Regions from separate parts of the Homo sapiens genome. Here region 2 is linked to region 1. Evidence: promoter capture Hi-C in 16 types of primary human blood cells and fetal thymus (Javierre and others, 2016). All regions are on one chromosome and are shown on one strand. Each heading gives the region's core, a stretch centred on a gene start or on the middle of the fragment in contact. The rest is flanking DNA. Distances are from core to core; before and after follow the strand shown. Region 1 holds the start of POLR2M (RNA polymerase II subunit M). Region 2 holds the start of ADAM10 (ADAM metallopeptidase domain 10).

Region 1 (3,022 bases), core at 377-2,876:
ATAAAAAGCTTAAGATTTGCATATAAGAAACATTTCATTAAGAGAAAGAGGAATATGGGGGAAAGGTAGAGAAAAAAATATGAGAGAAGGAGATTGTGTCAATTACTACATGCTATGTTCCTGAGAGGAGACAGAAAAAGTACAATTATAGCTCCCTCACAGAAAGGACTTTACAATTTTGTTAGGAAAGGAAAAAGAAATCTCGATGCATAACACAATTAGAGAAGTATAATATGCTTCATGCAGTGAGGTTCCAACTTTAACTAAGCCCTATAATTGTGCTGAAAAGAAAGAGAAGTTTGGTTTGGAATAACATGGGAAGGTTCAGGGAGGAGGTGAGACTTCAGCCAAGACTTACAATTGGCAAGGGGAGAAGAGATAGCCTTCCACAAAAGGGTAACAGAAGGGGGCAAAATTCTGAGGCCTAAAAGAAAGGCATCCTTGCCTTGGGGACACCTGTGGCCTACAATCAGCACATGGGGAGTTCACTACTGTGGGAGAAATAAAGGCCTCCAGCTGGGGTCCAGGGGTGGGGTGAGGGAGGCTTGCGGGGTGCTTATCACTGTAAACCAAAAATAAAATTTGAAGGTCCGCCCTCAACCGTCTGAATGGACTTCCTCCTGTAGTCCAGGGTCCTCCAAATTTAACCTAAAAGACTGGCTTAGGCCATGATGGGAAGCTGAGGTCAGACATGCCTCATTATGCCCTTCTTTCTTTTAGAATCCAGGAAAAGCTACACAGCATTTAATATCAACACATATACCTTGAGTCTGATAAGAAACACAACTTACTTTCTCTGAAGCCTGCTAACTGGAGGCTTCATCTGCATGATAAAATTTCGGTCTCCACAAGTTCTTATGCTAACCTAGACATTCCTTTAAATCAATTACCAATCAGAAAAAAACTTAAATTTACCTATAACTTGGGAGCCCATCTTGCCCCACACCCGCTCTGCTTTGAGTTGTCCCACCTTTGTGGATTAAGCCAATGTTTATCTTAAATGTATTTGATTGATGTCTCATGTCTCCCTAAAATGTATAAAACCAAGCTGTGCACCAACCACCTTAGGCACGTGTTCTCAGGATCTCCTGAGGGCTGTGTCACGGGCCATGGTCACTCATATTTGGCACAGAATACATCTCTTCAACATTTTACGGAGTCTTTTTTTTTTTTTTTTGTCAGTACCACAGACAACCACCTGACTCGAGGACCTTACCTATTTCTCATTCAGCCAATGCTGCAGCACGTTATTAACGTCCTTGAAAGCAAGTCTTATACAGAGAAAACTTATTTTGATATATTAATGAATCTGATCAGAATGGACCAGATTGGGGGGATAGATAAATGGTTGCAATTGTGCTCCCTGGAATAGCTTTGGAGTTTACCTAGATCTTCTGTCTCTTTAGGACAGAGCTGCTTGTGTTTATATAGCATCTTACACAGGATTGAGACAACTTCAATTTCCTATATCAAAAAATCGGGGGAGGGCGGTGGGTTATGGGGGTGTTCAAACCTCCCAAGTGACATCTGCTGTGACTGCATGTCTTCCTACTCTTTCCACTGGGATGCACCTCTGGTAGCTGAACTATAACGAGAAGGTAAAAGCTGTGTCCAATACCTATTAAGCTGCCTTCTTCTCAACAGCTGGGGAGGTGGCGGGGGTGGGGGGGGGCGGAGGGAAGTCTTTTCAACAGTTTTACACATTTGGAAATAGGCCTAAAGTGAAGAAGGGGATTTTCAAATTGGTGTGTTGGAAAAGGGGCTGGGCTTTTGAGTTTGAAATCTGGTGCTGTCACTTACTGGTTTTGTGCCCTGGGAATATTTATTTCAGTTTTCATGCCTCTGTTTTTCTATAGGCAAAGTAGAAAATTCGAAAAGGTCCTCAACGAGTTTGTACAGCTGCTCCCACTCCCTCATCACCTCTTGTGGGCCTTTGGAAATGTATGTTGGAGGAGACATTTTGGATTGTTGCAATGACTTGGGAGTGCCATAGCACCTAGCAGGCAGAAGCCAGAAACACCAAATGTCTTAACAATGCTTGAGGCGGTGCTACAAATGAAGTCCTTCTCCAAATGCATTGAGCCCCAAGAAAAATCGCTGATTCTGAGGAACCTTCCAACTTTAACAATTTCAGGACGTCCCTAAGCTGAGCTAGGAGGCACCACGCACAGGCCGGAGGCACCACGCACAGGCCAGAGTCTCCCAAATCCTGTCCCGCACTCTCTCCCACCTTATTAATGGCCAGCTCATCTTTCAAGTTTCGACTTGAACCACTTCTCAGAGATATCTTCCCAGGTGCCCATCCCAACGTTACTATTATATCATAATTTGATTCTCCCTCCCCCCATCCCCCCGCCAACTCTGTAAACCCCAAGTATAACACAGGACGTTGCTATTTGTTGACTGACACATAGTGCTTGGTGAGGTCACGCTGGCGCTGAATACTTTTTGTATAAACCGACGAACAGCTGATGACCGCATGAATGCTCACACAAGGGGAAAGGGCGCCAAGCCAAGGAGCCGGCGTCATCCGACGTAACTTCCGCCCTTTAACGCTCCTGCGGACGCCCCCTTCTCCCAGTCCGTGTTTGTTTCCGGAATTTCAATAAAGCTCGATTCGGCTCGAAGAAGACCCCGTTCTTCCGGGAAAATGGCGACTCCCGCTCGTGCCCCGGAGTCACCGCCGTCCGCGGATCCGGCGCTAGTAGCGGGGCCTGCCGAGGAAGCCGAGTGCCCGCCGCCGCGCCAGCCTCAGCCCGCGCAGAATGTGCTCGCTGCCCCGCGGCTTCGAGCCCCAAGCTCCCGAGGACTTGGCGCAGCGGAGTTTGGTGGAGCTGCGGGAAATGTTGAAGCGCCAGGAGAGACTTTTGCGCAACGAGTAAGCTGGGGTCCCGCGGAGTCTCCGCCAGGCTCCTTCAGCTCGAGCTCCCTGGGCGCTCCCCTCCCCTCCCGCACTCTGTTCCCTTCCCTGGAAGGTGACTTTGACTCAGTCACATTCGCTTCAGTCCTACGGGCGAGTGGA
Region 2 (3,095 bases), core at 142-2,641, 1.0 Mb after region 1:
ATTTTCTAAATTATCAAAGGCTACAGACACTCATCCAAAGCATTCCTCAAATTTTTTCAATCGTTGCTTTTAGGCACACCTTGAGGTTTTTAAGTTTACTCTGGGGCAAGTCAAAAAGCTTACCTAAAATAAAGCACTTTAAGCAAGAATAAAATGATGCAGCTGGTCCTAGAACACACCGGAAATAAAAATCGTTGTCTTCAAAACCCGAAACAAGAAATGACATGCTTTTAGCAAATTTGACTTTCATGTGCAGGGGGGAGGGGGCACTGTTTTGACAATCCACTAACTACACTGTACATCTACTCCACCTGAAAGTTTAACGAAACTCTTCAAGTTGGGTCACCCAGGGACCGAACTTCTACTCTAAGAGACCCAATCCAGCCTACAAATCAAAGAACATCCCCAAATGGTTTACCCTTCTCCCGACCAAACCCTTTCCCCTGGGCGACAGAATGTTTTCAAGAACACCAACACACCCTCCTGTGATCTCTCTCCAAACACAGGACACAGGAAGAACCGAGGCCACTAGTCTCAGATAAGCGGGTGATGACTGCTGCCACTCCACGGGCGGCCCCTCTGCAGAATGGGGTCGGTCAGGACCGGCGCGCCGGGTAAAGAACAATACACGAGCCCAGCTGCAAACAACACAACTTCCCACGAGTCTGCGCGGCGGGTCTCGGCGGCGGAGAGGACTTCGGAATCCGCCACCGGGCAGGGGCTGGGGGAGGAATGGTGAGCAGGATGAGCGCTGAACGAGGACGGCGAGACCGCCAGCCTCGCTGCGGCTGCCTGCACCGGCGCCCGCCGAGCAGACTGGAGGGATGCAGCCACCAGCCTGGGTTCCACCGCTCTCACCAGGCGACGCGGATGCCCCGACTTCGCTTCTCTGGGAGGCGACCCCCGCCTCCCGGGGCCGCCAGGGCGGTGGGGGGCGGGGAAGGCCTCGCCGGAGGCTTGGGAGCCTCCTCGGCCCGCCACCGAAGGGAAAGCGGTCGGGGCGCGGGGGACAATAGGGAGCGGGGAGCGCGGCCCGCCAGAGTGGCGCCGCTGGCCGGCTGGGCTGACTGACGCGCACGCCGCGAGGCGCGACTGGGCTCCGCTCGGCCCGGCCGCCGCTCCGCCGTGGTCGCGGCGCCCCCGGCGCTCGCAGTCGTGCCTCACCTCCCATCCCCGCCGCCCAGGAGAGGAGCAGAATTAACACTCTCAGCAACACCATCTTCCGCTGCCGCTGCCGCCGCCGCCGCCTCCTCACGGGTTAACAGCAGCACATCGATCCGGAGGGAGAAGCTGAAGGGGCTTGGTCCGGAGCCTCCACGGGAAGCCGGGACCTCCCCTGGCAGGAGAAACGGCGAAGCACCTCCCTCTCGCTCCACTTCAGGGGCCGGCAACGCTCCTAGCTCCTCCAAAACAGGGACCTCCCTCCCCCTCGTTCGTTTCCTTCCTCCTTTCCCCGCTTTCCTTCCCTTGCTCGTTCCCTCTTCTCTCCCCCCCTCCTTCGAAACTCAGACCTCCGCCTCCTTCCTCACCACGTGACGCGCGGGCACCCAACTGGCACGCGGAGCCGCGCCCCTACCTCCCGCCCCTACCCGTCCCCCAGGCGCTTCAGGGGCGCGCGCATGCGCGCGGGGGACGGTTCCCGTGCTGCTAGGCCTGCCGCCGCTTCCTGTCCGCCGGCGGAGAGCTGGGATTGGGCTTGGGAGGCGGGGTTTGTCCTGGTCCCGCCCCGGGGCGGGAGCGCTCCTACGCGGAGATAGTGCTCCGCTACGTGTTAGAGCTGCTGAGGACCTTCCCTTGGGCTAAAATGGTCCGTGGAAGATGTAAGCAGGGCTGCTTTCGACTTCTTAACGTCACAAGTAACAGAGGTTTTTTTTCTTCTTTTTCTGCCTCTCTTGGTGCACCACAGCTACCAAGTAAACAAAAAGTCCCAACAAGCAGTAATTATAGCGGCAGCTGCCCCAGTGATGCGAACATAAATGCAAAGACCTTCAAGCAGCAGGAAAAAAAGACACCATGTCCGAGATGTAATTTTCCGAGCTCTTTACAAATTTATGTCACAGACTAAGGCTTTAGCCTTTGCAAAAGCATGCAACCTGAACCAGACTGTCTTGAATCTCCAGTCCAGAAAATGTCCTCTTTTCTCTCTGTCACATCTTTGAAGCGAATCCACGCACATCTTCTCCCCAACTTCTTAAAGCTTGTGTTTGTTTTCTCGTAACTCATTTTGATTCTTTAAACTTGGATGTCATGAACTAGAACTTTTTATGGCCATTTAATTAGATATTCTTCATCTATTTGGTATCGTGCTTGAGTAGGCCGAATTAGGGAGAGTGTGTGTGTGCGTGTGTGTGTGTGTGTATGTGTAAATTGTTTTGTTTTGCTTTCTAAAGACAAGGTCTCCGCTGTCTCGCCAGGCTGAAGTGCAGTGGTGTGATCATAGCTCACTGTAACCTCCAACTCAAGCCGAATTAGGGAGAGTGTGTGTGTGTGTGTGTGTGTGTAAATTGTTTTGTTTTGCTTTCTAAAGACAAGGTATCCGCTGTCTCGCCAGGCTGAAGTGCAGTGGTGTGATCATAGCTCACTGTAACCTCCAACTCAAGCGATCCTCCCGCCTCGGCCTCCCACAAGTGCTGGGATTACAGGCGTGAGCCACTGCGCTCGGCCTTAATGTTATTGATACTGTAATAAACTGGAATTCCTATACTGTTACCTGTATATTTTATACCATTTATTACCATTAACATAAGTGAAGAGAATTTTTTTTTTTTTGAGACGGAGTTTCGCTCTCGTTGCCCAGGCTGGGGTGCAATGGTGTGATCTCGACTCACCGCAACCTCTGCCTCCCAGGTTCAAGCGATTCTCCTGCCTCAGCCTCCCAAGTTGCTGAGATTACAGGCATGCACCACCACGCCCAGCAAATTTTTTGTATTTTTAATAGAGACGGGGTCTCACCATGTTGGTTAGGCTGGTCTCGAACTCCCAACCTCAGGTGATCCGCCCGCCAGCCTCCCAAAGTGCTGGGATTACAGGTGGGAGCCACCGAGCCTGGCCATAAGAGTCTTCTTTAATTCTCAGTTTGAGAAATGAATGATTCT

The links. The method cuts DNA at HindIII sites, captures the fragments that hold promoters and counts their contacts. A CHiCAGO score of 5 or more calls a contact.
Region 2: the fragment with the promoter of ADAM10 here is called in contact with a fragment that was not itself captured in region 1 in 1 of 17 cell types (fetal thymus); the score reaches 7.8 in fetal thymus.

The regions. Positions count from the first base shown.
Region 1 is chr15:57,704,078-57,707,099 of GRCh38, forward strand. It overlaps GCOM1 (GCOM1, MYZAP-POLR2M combined locus), which reads left to right. Exons shown (of 17, transcript NR_104371.3): 14 at 1,857-2,295. It overlaps POLR2M (RNA polymerase II subunit M), which reads left to right and starts at 2,637. Exons shown (of 4, transcript NM_015532.5): 1 at 2,637-2,878. The coding sequence starts at 2,766. RefSeq lists an enhancer at 2,532-2,751. The HindIII fragment of the contact is 3,240 bases long and covers 7-3,022 here.
Region 2 is chr15:58,748,316-58,751,410 of GRCh38, forward strand. It overlaps ADAM10 (ADAM metallopeptidase domain 10), which reads right to left and starts at 1,392. Exons shown (of 16, transcript NM_001110.4): 1 at 1,165-1,392. The coding sequence starts at 1,219. RefSeq lists enhancers at 525-1,160, 612-741, 1,832-2,011 and silencers at 852-1,141, 1,472-1,761. The HindIII fragment of the contact is 2,079 bases long and covers 117-2,195 here.